Regions from separate parts of the Homo sapiens genome. Here regions 1 and 3 are each linked to region 2. Evidence: promoter capture Hi-C in human tissues and cell types (Jung and others, 2019). All regions are on one chromosome and are shown on one strand. The core of a region is centred on a gene start or on the middle of the fragment in contact, and the rest is flanking DNA. Distances in the headings are between cores, read along the strand shown. Region 1 holds the start of LRRC59 (leucine rich repeat containing 59). Region 2 has its middle 30 kb from the start of WFIKKN2. Region 3 holds the start of MRPL27 (mitochondrial ribosomal protein L27).

Region 1 (4,019 bases), core at 300-2,799, 410 kb before region 2:
TTTCTCCCTAAGGTTAATGCTGGACTGTTCAGATGCCTGGAGTATATGGTTTCAGAGAGCAGTCCTAGGGCAGGGTGAAATAAGGCTGGCCATCTATCTTCCTGGGGTAGAAAAGGAGGCATATATTCAGTTAAGGATCCTCTGGCAACCTGCACTTTCTGTCACAAAGTCGTAAAAGTGAAGTTTGACCACCTAAAAAAGTTTTAAATACTACAGCGGGAAAAACACAACAACAGCTACAAGTATCAGTATTTGCTCCTTCCAAGCATTTTCCATTACAATGGTATTTAACCTCCCAATAAGCGTATGAGATGGAAACTATTATCACCATTGTATAGATGAGGAGATCTAGGCATAAAGGCTAACTAGCTTGCCAAGGGCACTCGGCTATTAAGCAATGGAGCTGGGAGGAGCTAGGAACCCGGTTCTAACCACTGTAATACCCGTCCACGGTGGAAGAAAGACTGGGCCCAGCGCCCAAGGCAAATGTAATTTATCAACGGCAGAAAGCAAAGTGTGGGTCACCCAAAGTGAGTCTAGTAGGGCGTTGGCGCGGGTGGGAGGGGGAACGGAGTGGGAAAAGGAGGGATGTGGGAACTAGCTCCACGCTGACAAAACTAGATGCCTGCTATCTCTCTGGAGCTGTAAGCTTCAGTTTACAGGGGAAAGGTTGGGGGAGAGAGGGGCGAAAGGGACTCCCGCCAGTTTCAGCGGAATTCAGATGACAGTTTACCAGCCAAGCTGGGGGGAGACTTTACTTTCTTCGAGTTAGGCTGCCTCAGGGCTCGGGCAGCCAGCTGGAATTGCCAGCTTCCTAGAAGAGCCAGGTTCTGGGCCACACCCAGGTCTACCAGGAGGCCTACTCCCCTGGAACAAGTCACTCATTCATTCTCGAATACATCCAGTAACTGCTCCGTGTGCTCCTACTCAGAGTCGGGCACGGAGGTGGGCGCTGTGAAAGCCCCGCAAAGGTGACAGATTCGCTTCTTAGCCTGTAAAAAGCCTAGGGCCAGAGAAGCAGATCTTCCCTATGTTCTGGAACTGCGCCAAAGTGACACGTGTACATCCCGGGAAGAACCTTGGGCTGGACGCGGCCTCCTAGGGGACTTAGTCCCACCACCCCGCTTCTTTTTAAAGAAAAGGAAACTGATGCTTTTAGAGAAGAGGAAAGTAAGTGGCCCACGTAGGGGCCAGCGCCCGGCGAAGGTGGGCGCCTGGGCCTCGCGGGACGATACTGACCAGCTCCTTCACCGGGACCTCATTCAGGTCGCTGAGGCTCAGGTCCAGTTCGTTGCCGTCCAGCTTGTCGCGGAGGTTCCCGCCCTTGCTACCGGCCTTGGTCATGGTAACGCCGGCTGAGCGGGCCCCGGCTCCGGGGTTCCGGCGGGTGAAAGGAGCTGAAATGTCGCTTGTCAGTTCAGCGGCCCCCCACCCAAACGACGACGCCTGAGCCCTCCGTCGCCGCCGATGCGAGACCGCCTCCGCCCGCTGGCCGCACTCCGAGCCTCGCGCCTAGCTCCCACCGGTGCCGCGACGACGACCACTTCCGTGTCCACGTCACCTTCCGCGACCACTGAGATGGGCTGGGCCAGAGCGGCCCGAGCGTGTGCGGGCACGCCCCCTGGTGCCCAGGGTGATGCACTGCACGTCGCCGCCGCCGGAGGGGTGGGGTTGGAGGCTGCGAGCTCGGTTCACGTTCACCCGTGGCCCGCGGGCATTATTGCTGGCAGTGCCACGAGGCGAAAGGGCACGGACTGGGCGCCAGAAGACTGGGTTGACATCCAATACTGACCTCATCAGATCACCCCAATCCCCCTGATTAGGAGCAGAAGCTGGGTGTCCTCTAAAACTGCTCCCTGTCCTCTACTTAACCCCCGAATAACCATCATGGGGAAAACTCTTCTTCCTGAATTTCTCCTCTCTCCTCCCCACTCACTGCCTCAGTGCTTGTCTCTGTCCTTCCATCCACTTTCACCCAGCTCCCCGGTGATCTTTCTAAAAATCTGGCCAAGTCTCTCCCCTACGTAAAACCCTTCAAACTTGCAGCTACCTCTAGGATACGGACCACTTTCCTTTGGAAGCTGGGTCCTGCCTGCTTTCGCAGCTTCCTCACACGCTCCAGTCCCTGCCTGGCCTAGATGCTGTGTAGATTTCCAGGAGGTGGCTCCCACGTCTGGCCCTCCCCAGCGATGGCCCTCCCTCCCCCCCACTCACCTCTGTCTAGCTAATTCCTTAGTCCTTCAGGAAATCTCCCCTGAACACCGTGAATGCCAGACTGAGTTAGCGCCCCCCCCAACCAACTTAGGTCCCTGTTTGCTACTTTATCATCAGAGACAGTAGAGCTTGATGGCCAAGTGGGACCTCTGGCACTAATACCTATCCACTGGGTATTCATCCTGGCTCTGCCACTTGCTACTTATAAAACCGTAGACAATCACCAGGCTTCAGTCTTATCTATGAATCAATCTATGAGACATGTAGCTAACAGAGGTTGGGGAGAACTGAAGGAGTAAAACACACCAAGAGCTTACAGCAGTCACTGGCACTTAGTAAGTACCCAATAAATATTAGCTACAATTCATGATCCACCTTGTATTATACTCATCTTTATGTGTCTGTCCTTCATTCTGGACTGTGAGGACAGGGATTTTTGTCTTAATCATCTTCGTATGCCCAGAGTTGGCATACCCTGATGCAGGGTAGCTACTCATTCAGATGTCTGTTGAATAAATGAATAGATGGATGGATGAATGAATGAATGAATGAAGGAAGGAAGCACTTTACCCACTCCAAACCTCAGTTTACTCATTTTGAAATAGGGATATTAAAGCTTATCTCAGAGGGGCCGAGCAGGATAGCTCACACCTGTAATCCCAATACTTGGGAGGCCAAGATGAGAGGATTATTTGAGGCTAGGAGTTCAAAACCAGTCTGGGCAACATAGCAAGACCCCATCTCTAAAAAAATAAAAAATAAAAAATCTTGTCTCAGAGGGAAACTATGAACACCAAATAAAGTAAGTGCAATTGTTACGGGGGGTGGGTGGCAGGGGTCCTTGTTCTTAGAACTCCCAAGATGGTGGCGGGCCACTTCCAAGATGGCGGCAAGCCTCTTGTTCTCTGACCTGGGTTTCTTGGCCTCACGCATTCCAAGGAATGGAATCTTGGGCCATGCAATGAGTGTTATAGCTCTATTCAGCTCAATTAGGACAAATCCAGGCACTTAGCCACGCAGGAACAATGGCAAGCCTTTAGCCTGATCCAGAGCAGCAATGGGCGCCTCACTGGATCGGGAGCCCAGCAGACACCCTGCCAGATCCAGAGGGGTGGAAGTCAGCAGCGGGTCTGCGACAGCAGCAAACAGCAGTAGTGGACGGTAAGGAAAAGCTCAGCTCAAGCCGTAACAAACACGGACCAGAAAAGTGTGCAGTTGCAAGATTTAATAGAGTGAAAACAGAGCTCCCATAAAATGGCAGGGGACCCAAAGGGGGTTGCTGTTGCCGGCTCGAATGCCTGGGTTTATATCCCGATCATTGTCCCTCCTCCTGTGCTCTCAGGCGATAGATGATTGGCTATTTCTTTACCTCCTGTTTTTGCTTAATTAGCATTTCAGTGAGCTCTCTTTACTACCTGATTGATCAGGTGCGAGCTAAGTTGCAAGCCCCATGTTTAAAGGTGGATGCGGTCACCTTCCCAGCTAGGCTTAGGGATTCTTAGTTGGCTTAGGAAATCCAGCTAGTCCTGTCTCTCAGTGCCCCCCTCAACAGGAAAACCCAAGTGCTGTTGGGGAGGTTGGCCGATGACCGCTCTAACTGCTTCCTGCTAAATTGGGGCATAGTAGGGGTTGTGCAGTTGAGATTTCCTCGGGAGGGTTGCTTTTGATGTCACCAACATCACAGCATGGGCTAGCAGACTGGTCCAGGGGTCCACGGTAGATCTTAGTCATGGACCGCATCTGGGGCTCCATTTAAAGAACCATTTGTAGTTTTACAGCTTCGATTCTGGAACAGACAAACTTAA
Region 2 (4,373 bases), core at 1,242-3,741:
AGTGATCCGCCCACCTTGGCATCCCAAATGCTGGGATTAGAGGCGGGAGCCACCGTGCCTGGCTGTAGGTGTTTCTTGTGTCTCTGGTGAACCCTAGGAAGTATACTCAAACGAGTCAAAACCAAACCAAACAACAGGCCCCGATTGGAAGGACACCAGGAAGCTGAGAATGGCAGCAACTGGGGTGTCTCTGAAGACCTCACAGGCCACCGTTAGAGACCCAGCCCCTGTGGGCTTCAGCAGCTCCAGGCCACCTCCTTCCAGTCCTGCCCCCTGCACCTGTGAGGCAAGCTTGGCAGAAAAGTCCGGAGAAAGAGATCCAAAGGGTCTGGCTTGTAACCTCTTTAGGTGGGAGAAACGAGTTCAGTTTGAATCACAGGCCTCACCCTGCAGCCTGCGGCAGAGTCTTGGGGAAAGAAAGAAGCTTTGCTTTCATTAAAACTCAGAAACAGCCAGAGGCACCTTTTTCTTAAAGCCAGTATCTGCAGAGAAAAACAGCAGACTGGTCTCGCTTAGTAAGTGAAACAGAGGGACCTAGTTTAGATGGGGAAAAAGAAACACAAAACAAAGGACAAGAACCCAGTGAGTTTGCTGAGCGTATTTGCAGCTGAAGTGATTGACAGTGGGTGCAGGTCCTGAACCATGACTGTGTCCTGTGCTATCGAGCTTCATTTCACTCAGTTACCTAAAGTGTGTTCTACATCCTCGAGATTTATAATGATGATAATGGGGATGATAATGACTCATGTATTTTATTGTTCCTACTTTTCAGGCACAGTTTTTTGTTTGTTTGTTTGTTTTTGAGATGGAGTCTCGCTCTGTCGCCCAAGCTAGAGTGCAGTGGCAGATCTCAGCTCATTGCAAGCTCCGCCTCCCAGGTTTAAGCGATTTGCAGCTAATTTTTTGCATTTTTAGTAGAGACAGGGTTTCACCATGTTGGCCAGGCTGGTCATGAACTCCTGACCTCAAGTGATTCGCCTTCCCTGGCCTCCTAAAGTGCTGGGGTTACAGGCGTGAGCCACCACGCCCGGCATCAGGCACAGTTTTTAAGTGAGTTATATGTCGTAAATCCTCAAAATATTCCTATGGAGTAAGTACTATTATCCCATTGTACAGATGAGGAACCCGAGGCACAAAGTTATATGAAAAAGGCTCTGTAGAAAAAAATTAGAACAACAAAAATTATCTTTTTCTCTCTCTTTTTTTTTTGTTGTTTTTGCTTTTTTGGTTTTTTTTTTATGGAGATGAGGGTCCCACTATGTTGCCCAGGCTGGTCTCGAACTCCTAGGCTTCACGATCCTCCTGCTTCGGCCTTCCAAAGTGCTGGGATTACAAGCATGAGCCTCTGCACCTGGCCACTCATCCTTGTGTATGGAGTGGCTGGACAAAACACAAAGTCACTTAAGATAGACACTGAAGAGTCTACTTTAATTGCACATAGGGCCTTTGCCTAATGAGTCACATAATCGGGGCTCCGTGGAGTCATTAATATTTCACATCTTTTCCCATCAGCACAAAGTAAACACTATTTTAATAACCGCAATACTGCTTCTTTTTTTGGGCCCAGGAAATTGCTTGGTTCATTGTTCCATTTTAGAAAAGATTAAACAAAATTGATTTTCATAATTGTCATTCTGTACTTTTTTTTTGAGACAGAGTTTCACTCTTGTTGCCTATGCTGGAGTGTGATGGCGCAATCTCAGCTCACCGCAACCTCCACCTCCACCTCCCGGATTCAAGCGATTCTCCTGCCTCGGCCTCCCAAGTAGCTGGGATTACGGGCATGCACCACCACACCTGGCTACTTTTGTATTTTTAGTAGAGATGGGGTTTCTCCATGTTGGCCAGGCTGGTCTTGAACTCTCGACCTCAGGTGATCTGCCCGCCTTGGCCTTCCAAAGTGGTGGGATTACAGGCGTGAGCCACCGTGCCCTACAGTTTTTTTTTTTATTTTTTAGACAGAGTCTGGACAGAGTTTTGCCCTGTCATCCAGGCTAGAGTGCAGTGGTGTGATTTCGGCTCACTGCAATCTCCACCCCCCAGATTCAAGCAATTCTGCCTCAGCCTCCTGAGTAGCTGGGACTACAGGCGCACACCACCATGACCAGCTAACTTTTGTATTTTTAGTAGAGACAGGGTTTCACCATGTTGGCCAGGCTGGTCTTGAACTCCTGACCTCCAGTGATCCCCTGCCTCAGCCTCCCAAAGTGCTGGGATTACAGGTGTGAGCCACCACACCTGGACTCATTCTGTACTACTCGTCCCCAAGGGGAAATCTTATACTTTCTGATTCCACAATAAGTTCTGAGGAGGAGGTGAGGAGGGTTGCTGGTCAGACAGACACTGGGGAATCTACCTAGGAAGTGTCAATAGCCAGTTCAGCACACGCAGAAGTCCTGGCTGGACAGAGGAGGGCCCAGGTGTTCTGCATGTGGGAACACAGTCCTTAGGAACAGCTGGCTTGGAGGCGATGCTGCCTAAGCCAGCAACTTTTTCCAGGCCCCACTGGACGGCACCCAAGGACGTTATCCAGGCGAATGGTGACTCCCTGCAGGATCCATTCATTAGCCACATGGGGTGGGGGGAATGACATGGGGTGGGGGGAATCCCACAAGCCAAGGGTCAGTTACCAGGTGCAAACTGTCCAAGGAACACCTGGAGAACTTTCTTGCACTTTCTGACCTCCAGGGTCTCGACAAGCCTGGGCGTGCCCCAGAGGTCCAGTTTTTATGAATATTGGAGCTCCATGCTGTTCATCCAGGAAGCTCAAAGTTAAATGAAACACCTGGGGACCCCACAGAGTTATTATATTGTGGGGGGGTGCTAGTCTGGGCCCAGGCAGGATGCCCCATTTTCTCCACTTCAGGGAGCACCTGGGATTTGTGGTGGGAGATGGAGCTGCCCCCGTGAGGACTCTGGCTTGAAAGTGACAAAATCCAACATGAGCCAGCTTGGGCAGAAAGGGGGAATTTGCTAGAATCAACCAAAAACTTCAGCTGCACACTTGGCCGCTCCGCATGTGGGAAAGGCTGAGCTGCAGAGACCCTGCATCAGGTAGGGTTCCGGGATGGCATGGCAGCCCCACTAGGGCCACGTGGTTGGAATAGGGGGAGAAGCTGCCCCCAGGAAGAAAGGGTGTTCCCTGAAGAGGGCATGCGGCAGATCAAGAGGCAAATGTGCGCCTCACCAAGGAACTTGGCTTAGCGTTGCCAAATTTTCTCTGTGTTGGATTAGGGTCAAACTCTTGTTTGACTTGGCACAGAAGCTTGGAGGCCCGCTGGCTGCATGACTGCCTCACTCAGAGATGAGTATGGAGGGTCTAGAGGGGGCGCTGTGGGGCTCTGGCCAGAAACAGCCGAAAGTAGAAAACCATCCAAATATCCAAAAATTGATGAATGAATCAACACAATGTAGAACCTACAAACAACAGGCTGGGCGCAGTGGCTCATGCCTGTAATCCCAGCACTTTGGGAGGCCGAGGTGGGTGGATCACTTGAGGTCAGGAGTTTGAGACCAGCCTGGCCAACATGGTGAAACCCTGTCTCTACTGAAAATACAAAAATTAGCCAGGCGTGGTGGTGCACAATTGTAATCCTAGCTACTCGGGAGGCTGAGGCAGGAGAATCACTTGAACTCGGGAGGCGGAGGCTGCAGTGAGCCGAGATCGAACCACTGCACTCCAGCCTGAGTGACAGGGTGAGACTCCATCTCAAAAAAAAAAAAAAAAGAACCAACAAACAACAGAATATTATTCACCCATGTAAAGCAGTGAAGTACTGACACCCACCACAGTATAGATGAACCCTGCAAACCTCATGCTAAATGAAAGAAGCCAGACACAAAAAGGCCAATATTGTATGACTCCATTTATGTGAAATGTTTAGATAGGCAAATCCACAGAGACAGGAAGCAGATTTGCGGTTGCCAGGGGCTGTGGGGAGGGGGAATGGGAGTGATGGCTAATGGATTTCCTTTGGGGATGATGAAAAAGTTCTGGAACTAGGTAGTGGTGATGGTTGCACAACAATGTGAATGTCCTCGATGCCACTGAATTGCATACCTACAATGGTTAAAATGGTAAAATTTATATTATGTGTGTTTCATCACAATAATAAGAAAAAAGATGAGCTTCCTTCAGACAAACACATGGGAGCTTGCAGCTTGGAGACTCGGGAGAAGATGTGTGTGAGACGGTTACCCGCACAATGGGTGGGTTCCATAGCTTGGGTCAAGAGTTCAAGACCAGCCTGTGCAACATGGCAAAACCCCGTCCGTCTCTACAAAAATTAGCCAGGTATGGTAGTGCAAACCTGTAGTCCCAGCTACTTGGGAGCCTGAGATGGGAGGATGGCTTGAGCCTGGGAGCCAGAGGT
Region 3 (4,218 bases), core at 563-3,062, 430 kb before region 2:
CTGGGCCCTTTCTTCTCAAAGCACATCAAGCAGAGGTCCAACCATGACCCACACACTGCCCTTGTTAATCTGACCTCTCCATACTCATTCCAAAGTGCTCAATAGCATTCATTTGCAGAAGTAAAATGAACTAAAATTCATACTAAGATGGTAGTCCCTTGCTGTATGACAAGCCTAGGGGTGCAACTCCTTGCCTGCAGGTCTCCAGACACAGCCATGATTTAAGGTCCATGCCAGTGTCTTTAGAGAAGCCTTGTGGGTCTCTGGAGCCTATAAGTTCAGAGTTCCTGAAGCCTGGGTTTCTGACATTTCCATGACACCAGAGACTAGCTGGGGCAAAGGACCAGAGATAAGGACTCAGAAAGACAACATGTTAAAACATGCCCGGCGCCAGGATCTACCTACCTTTAAACATCTATTCATTCATTTACATACTTACTAAGCTCAGGAGCTGGGCTTTTACTTTACTTACATTATCTCACTCACAAATCTTTGCTCTTCACCCTACTCCCCATCCTCCTCCTCAAAGTAAATGGTACCACCATTCATCCAGTTGCTTAGGCAGAAACCAGAGTCATTGCAGATTCCTTCTCTTTGCTGTCCTCACATATTGTTCACCAGCAAGCTCTGTGGATGCTAACTCCAAAACAGATCTCAAATTCATCCGTTTTCCTCCAAGTTCACTGCCACCACAAACATCTTGGCTAAATCATCTCTCCTCAGGGCTATTACGACTTTCCATTTGATTTCCTCATTTCCACTCCTATCCCCTTTAAATTTACATAAGAGCAATAGTTTGCTTCTCAAAATGTAAAACTGGCTCAAGTCACTCTCCTGTCCCTCACTCTACACAGGTCTAGGTCTCCTGTCATTCTTTTTTTTTTGGGGGGGGGGGATAGGGCCCCATTCTGTCACCCAGGCTGGAGTGCAGTGGTATGAACATAGCTCACTGCAACCTCGACCTCCCGAGCTCAGGTGATCCTCCCACCTCAGCCTCCTGAGTATCTGAGACCACAGGCAAGCGCCACTACACCCAGCTAATTTTTGTATTTTTTGTAGAGATGGGGTTTTGCCATGTTGCCCAGTCGGTCTTGAACTCCTGGGCTCAAGCGATCCGCCCACCTAGGCCTCCCAAAGTGTTGGGACTACAGGCGTGAGCCATCACGCCCCGCCTGTCATTCTTTAGGTTTTAAATGTTATCTCCTCAGAAGCCTTCCTTCACCGTCCAATCTAAAAAAAGACACACACACAGACACACATTATCCTTCTTCACAGCACTTGCCAGTCTACATCTACTTTATATGTTCATTTATTGCCTTATGCACCAGAGAGAACCGTTCGGGGGCTAGAAGCCAAGTCTTCACGTTTTCTGCTGATTTTCCGAACACCTACCGCCGTGTCTAGCACAAAGTAAGACCTCAATCTGCTGAATCAATAGATTAATTTTTTCAACCCCAATATGCCAATGTTACTAATACTTCTACAGAGAAAGGACCCACCCAAATCCCCAACCGCCAAGGAACCCGTCCGTGCTGCTGAGGCAGGAGAAAGACAAGTGCTCTTCAAACGCCCTCACTCACGGCTCCACCCAGGATGTGTCACGTGACCAGCGACACCGTCCCTCAAACCTGGAGTACCCCACACACTTCCCCTCGCATCCAAGGTCCTCCGCGGGGATCAGTGTCACCTCCTTCCCTCCCTGCTGGAGCTCCACTCTGCCTCCCCGCCTCACCCCGCTCTGACTACTGCGTCCCATTACCGGCTGTCCGGGTCCTCAGCGCCAACACCACCGACGCCATGCTTTCGATCACTCACTTCCGGTCTCGAAAAGTTTCTACTTCCGCTATCAGGAGATCTACTTCCGGGCCCTGCGTGGCAGTTGAAAGAGTGGCGGGAGAAGTTGCAGGTGAGCGTCCCCGGTCGCAGGCCTGCGGATTGGGCAGGGCTTCCCTCCTGAACACCGCTCTGCAGAATCTTGGTGGCTAAGGTGTCCAGGAGCCTCTGCAGCGGACCGCCAGCCTGAGAGGCGCAGAGCTTGTCGGGCAGGGGCCCGCTTGTCCCACTCCCCTGATTTGCAGATGTCAACGGAGGCCCAGCGAAGGGTCAGAGATGAGGCCCCCTCCCTAGTCATTCAACTTACTCTACTTAGCCAGCTGTGTGCCAGATGCTGTACTAAGCGCGGTGGATGCATTATTTTATTTAATTCTCACTACCTTATAAAATGGGTGCTGTTACCATCCCTGTTTTACTAAGGAAGAAACTGAGGCCTAGGCAGGTTACATGTCTCCTTCTGGGTCATACCTACAGTGTTAGTAAATGTTCAAGAAATGATTAGCTTTGCATATGACCCAGCAATTCTACTCCTAGGTATATACACGAAAGGGATTTGAAAACATACCCCCACAAAAACTTGTATGTCAGTGTTCATAGCAGCATTATTCATAACAGGCAAAAAAAGGAAACAAATTAAATGTCCAAGTGATGAATGGATAAACAAAATGTAGCATATCCATACAGTGGAATATTATTCAGTCATGAAAAGCAATTAACTACTGATACAGGCTACATCATAGATAAACCTTGAAAACAAGCTGAGTGAAAAAAGTCAATCACAAAAGGCCACATAGTGTATGATTCTATTTATATGAAATATCCAGAATAGGCAAATGCATAGAGACAGATTTATGGTTGCCAGGAGCTGGGGAGGGAGGGAAAGGACAGTGACGGCTTAATGGCTGCAGGAATTCTTTTTGAGGTGATAAAATAGTGATGATGGTTGCACAACATTGTGAATATACTAAAATCTACTGAATGTACACTTTTAAAAGGATATTATGCTGTGCAAATTATATCTCTATTTTTATTTTTATTTTATTTTTCTTTTGAAGCAGGGTCTCACTCTGTCACCCGGGCTGGAGTGCAGTCGTACAATCACAGCTCACTGCAGCCTTGACCTCCCAGGCTCAAGCAATCCTCCCACCTCAGCCTCCTGAGTATCTGGGACTACAGGTGTGAGCCACCATACCCAGCTAATTTTTGTATTTTTTTGTAGAGACGAGTTCTCACTATGTTGCCCAGGCTGTTCTCGAACTCCTGGGCTCAAGTGATCCTTCTGCTTTGGCCTCCCAAAGTGCTGGGATTATACGCATGAGCTACCATGCCCAGCCTATATCTCAATTTTTAAAAAGAACAGTTTTTGGCCAGGTGCAGTGGTTCACACCTGTAATCTCAGCACTTTGGGAGGCCAAGGCGGGCGGATCACTTGAGGTCAGGAGTTCAAGACTAGCCTGGCGAACATGATGAAAACGCATCTCTACTAAAAATACAAAAATTAGCCAGGTGTGGTGGTGGGGCGCCTGTAATCCCAGCTAGGCTGAGGCAGGAGAATCACTTGAACCTGGGAGTGAGGTTGCAGTGAGCCAAGATTGTGCCACTGCACTCCAACGTGGGTGCCAGAGTGAGACTCCATCTCAAAAAAAAAAAAGAAGAACTTTTGACATCTCCATTTCAAACGTGAAGATAAACAAGGGGTTGGAGGTGTTAAATCTTGTTACCACCTCCCCCCATTAAAATTTTGTAATGGTAACTCTACTTTGTTTATACTTCAGCTTGACCTGGAAAGAATTTGAGGAGGATTCCTGTTAGATTACCAGGAGTTAGAGTTCCAGATTGAATGTGTTGGGGCCATGTCATATTTCTCTGTTTCTGTATTCTCTATATCTTATATTTATGTCATAAAGCCTGGCTATGGAACACAGCTAGTGGACTGAATTGAATGCTCCAGTCTGTGTCATATGTCTCTTTTCCTTTTAGGGAATTATTTGATAGCACATACTGATGGCTCTAAAGAAGTCATCACCCTCACTGGATTCTGGTGATAGTGACTCTGAGGAGTTGCCAACATTTGCCTTTCTGAAGAAGGAACCATCTTCAACAAAGAGGAGACAGCCTGAAAGGGAAGAGAAGATTGTAGTGGTTGACATCTCAGATTGTGAAGCCTCCTGTCCTCCAGCACCAGAGTTATTTTCACCACCTGTCCCAGAAATAGCTGAAACTGTCACACAAACACAGCCAGTCAGGTTGCTAAGCAGTGAAAGTGAAGATGAAGAAGAATTTATTCCTCTGGCTCAAAGGCTTACATGTAAGTTTCTGACCCACAAGCAACTGAGCCCTGAGGACTCTAGCTCCCCAGTTAAAAGTGTTTTGGATCATCAAAAT

The links. The method cuts DNA at HindIII sites, captures the fragments that hold promoters and counts their contacts. A contact is called where the count stands out against the background at its distance.
Region 1: a contact is called between the fragment with the promoter of LRRC59 here and a fragment that was not itself captured in region 2, in 1 of the 25 tissues and cell types used here (pancreas).
Region 3: a contact is called between the fragment with the promoter of MRPL27 here and a fragment that was not itself captured in region 2, in 2 of the 25 tissues and cell types used here (dorsolateral prefrontal cortex and lymphoblastoid cells).

What each region holds. Positions count from the first base shown.
Region 1 is chr17:50,395,974-50,399,992 of GRCh38, forward strand. It overlaps LRRC59 (leucine rich repeat containing 59), which reads right to left and starts at 1,550. Exons shown (of 7, transcript NM_018509.4): 1 at 1,240-1,550. The coding sequence starts at 1,344. LRRC59-AS1 (LRRC59 antisense RNA 1) reads left to right here. Exons shown (of 2, transcript NR_199069.1): 2 at 1,243-2,584. RefSeq lists a silencer at 1,527-1,596. The HindIII fragment of the contact is 9,986 bases long and covers 90-4,019 here.
Region 2 is chr17:50,803,247-50,807,619 of GRCh38, forward strand. No RefSeq gene overlaps it. Among named protein-coding and RNA genes, the nearest start is that of WFIKKN2, 30 kb to the right of the region's middle. RefSeq lists a silencer at 2,921-3,142. The HindIII fragment of the contact is 6,487 bases long and covers 1-4,373 here.
Region 3 is chr17:50,371,372-50,375,589 of GRCh38, forward strand. MRPL27 (mitochondrial ribosomal protein L27) reads right to left here and starts at 1,813. Exons shown (of 4, transcript NM_016504.3): 1 at 1,760-1,813. The coding sequence starts at 1,799. EME1 (essential meiotic structure-specific endonuclease 1) reads left to right here and starts at 1,858. Exons shown (of 9, transcript NM_152463.4): 1 at 1,858-1,906; 2 at 3,814-4,218. The coding sequence starts at 3,838. RefSeq lists enhancers at 1,347-1,816, 1,957-2,176. The HindIII fragment of the contact is 32,602 bases long and covers 1-4,218 here.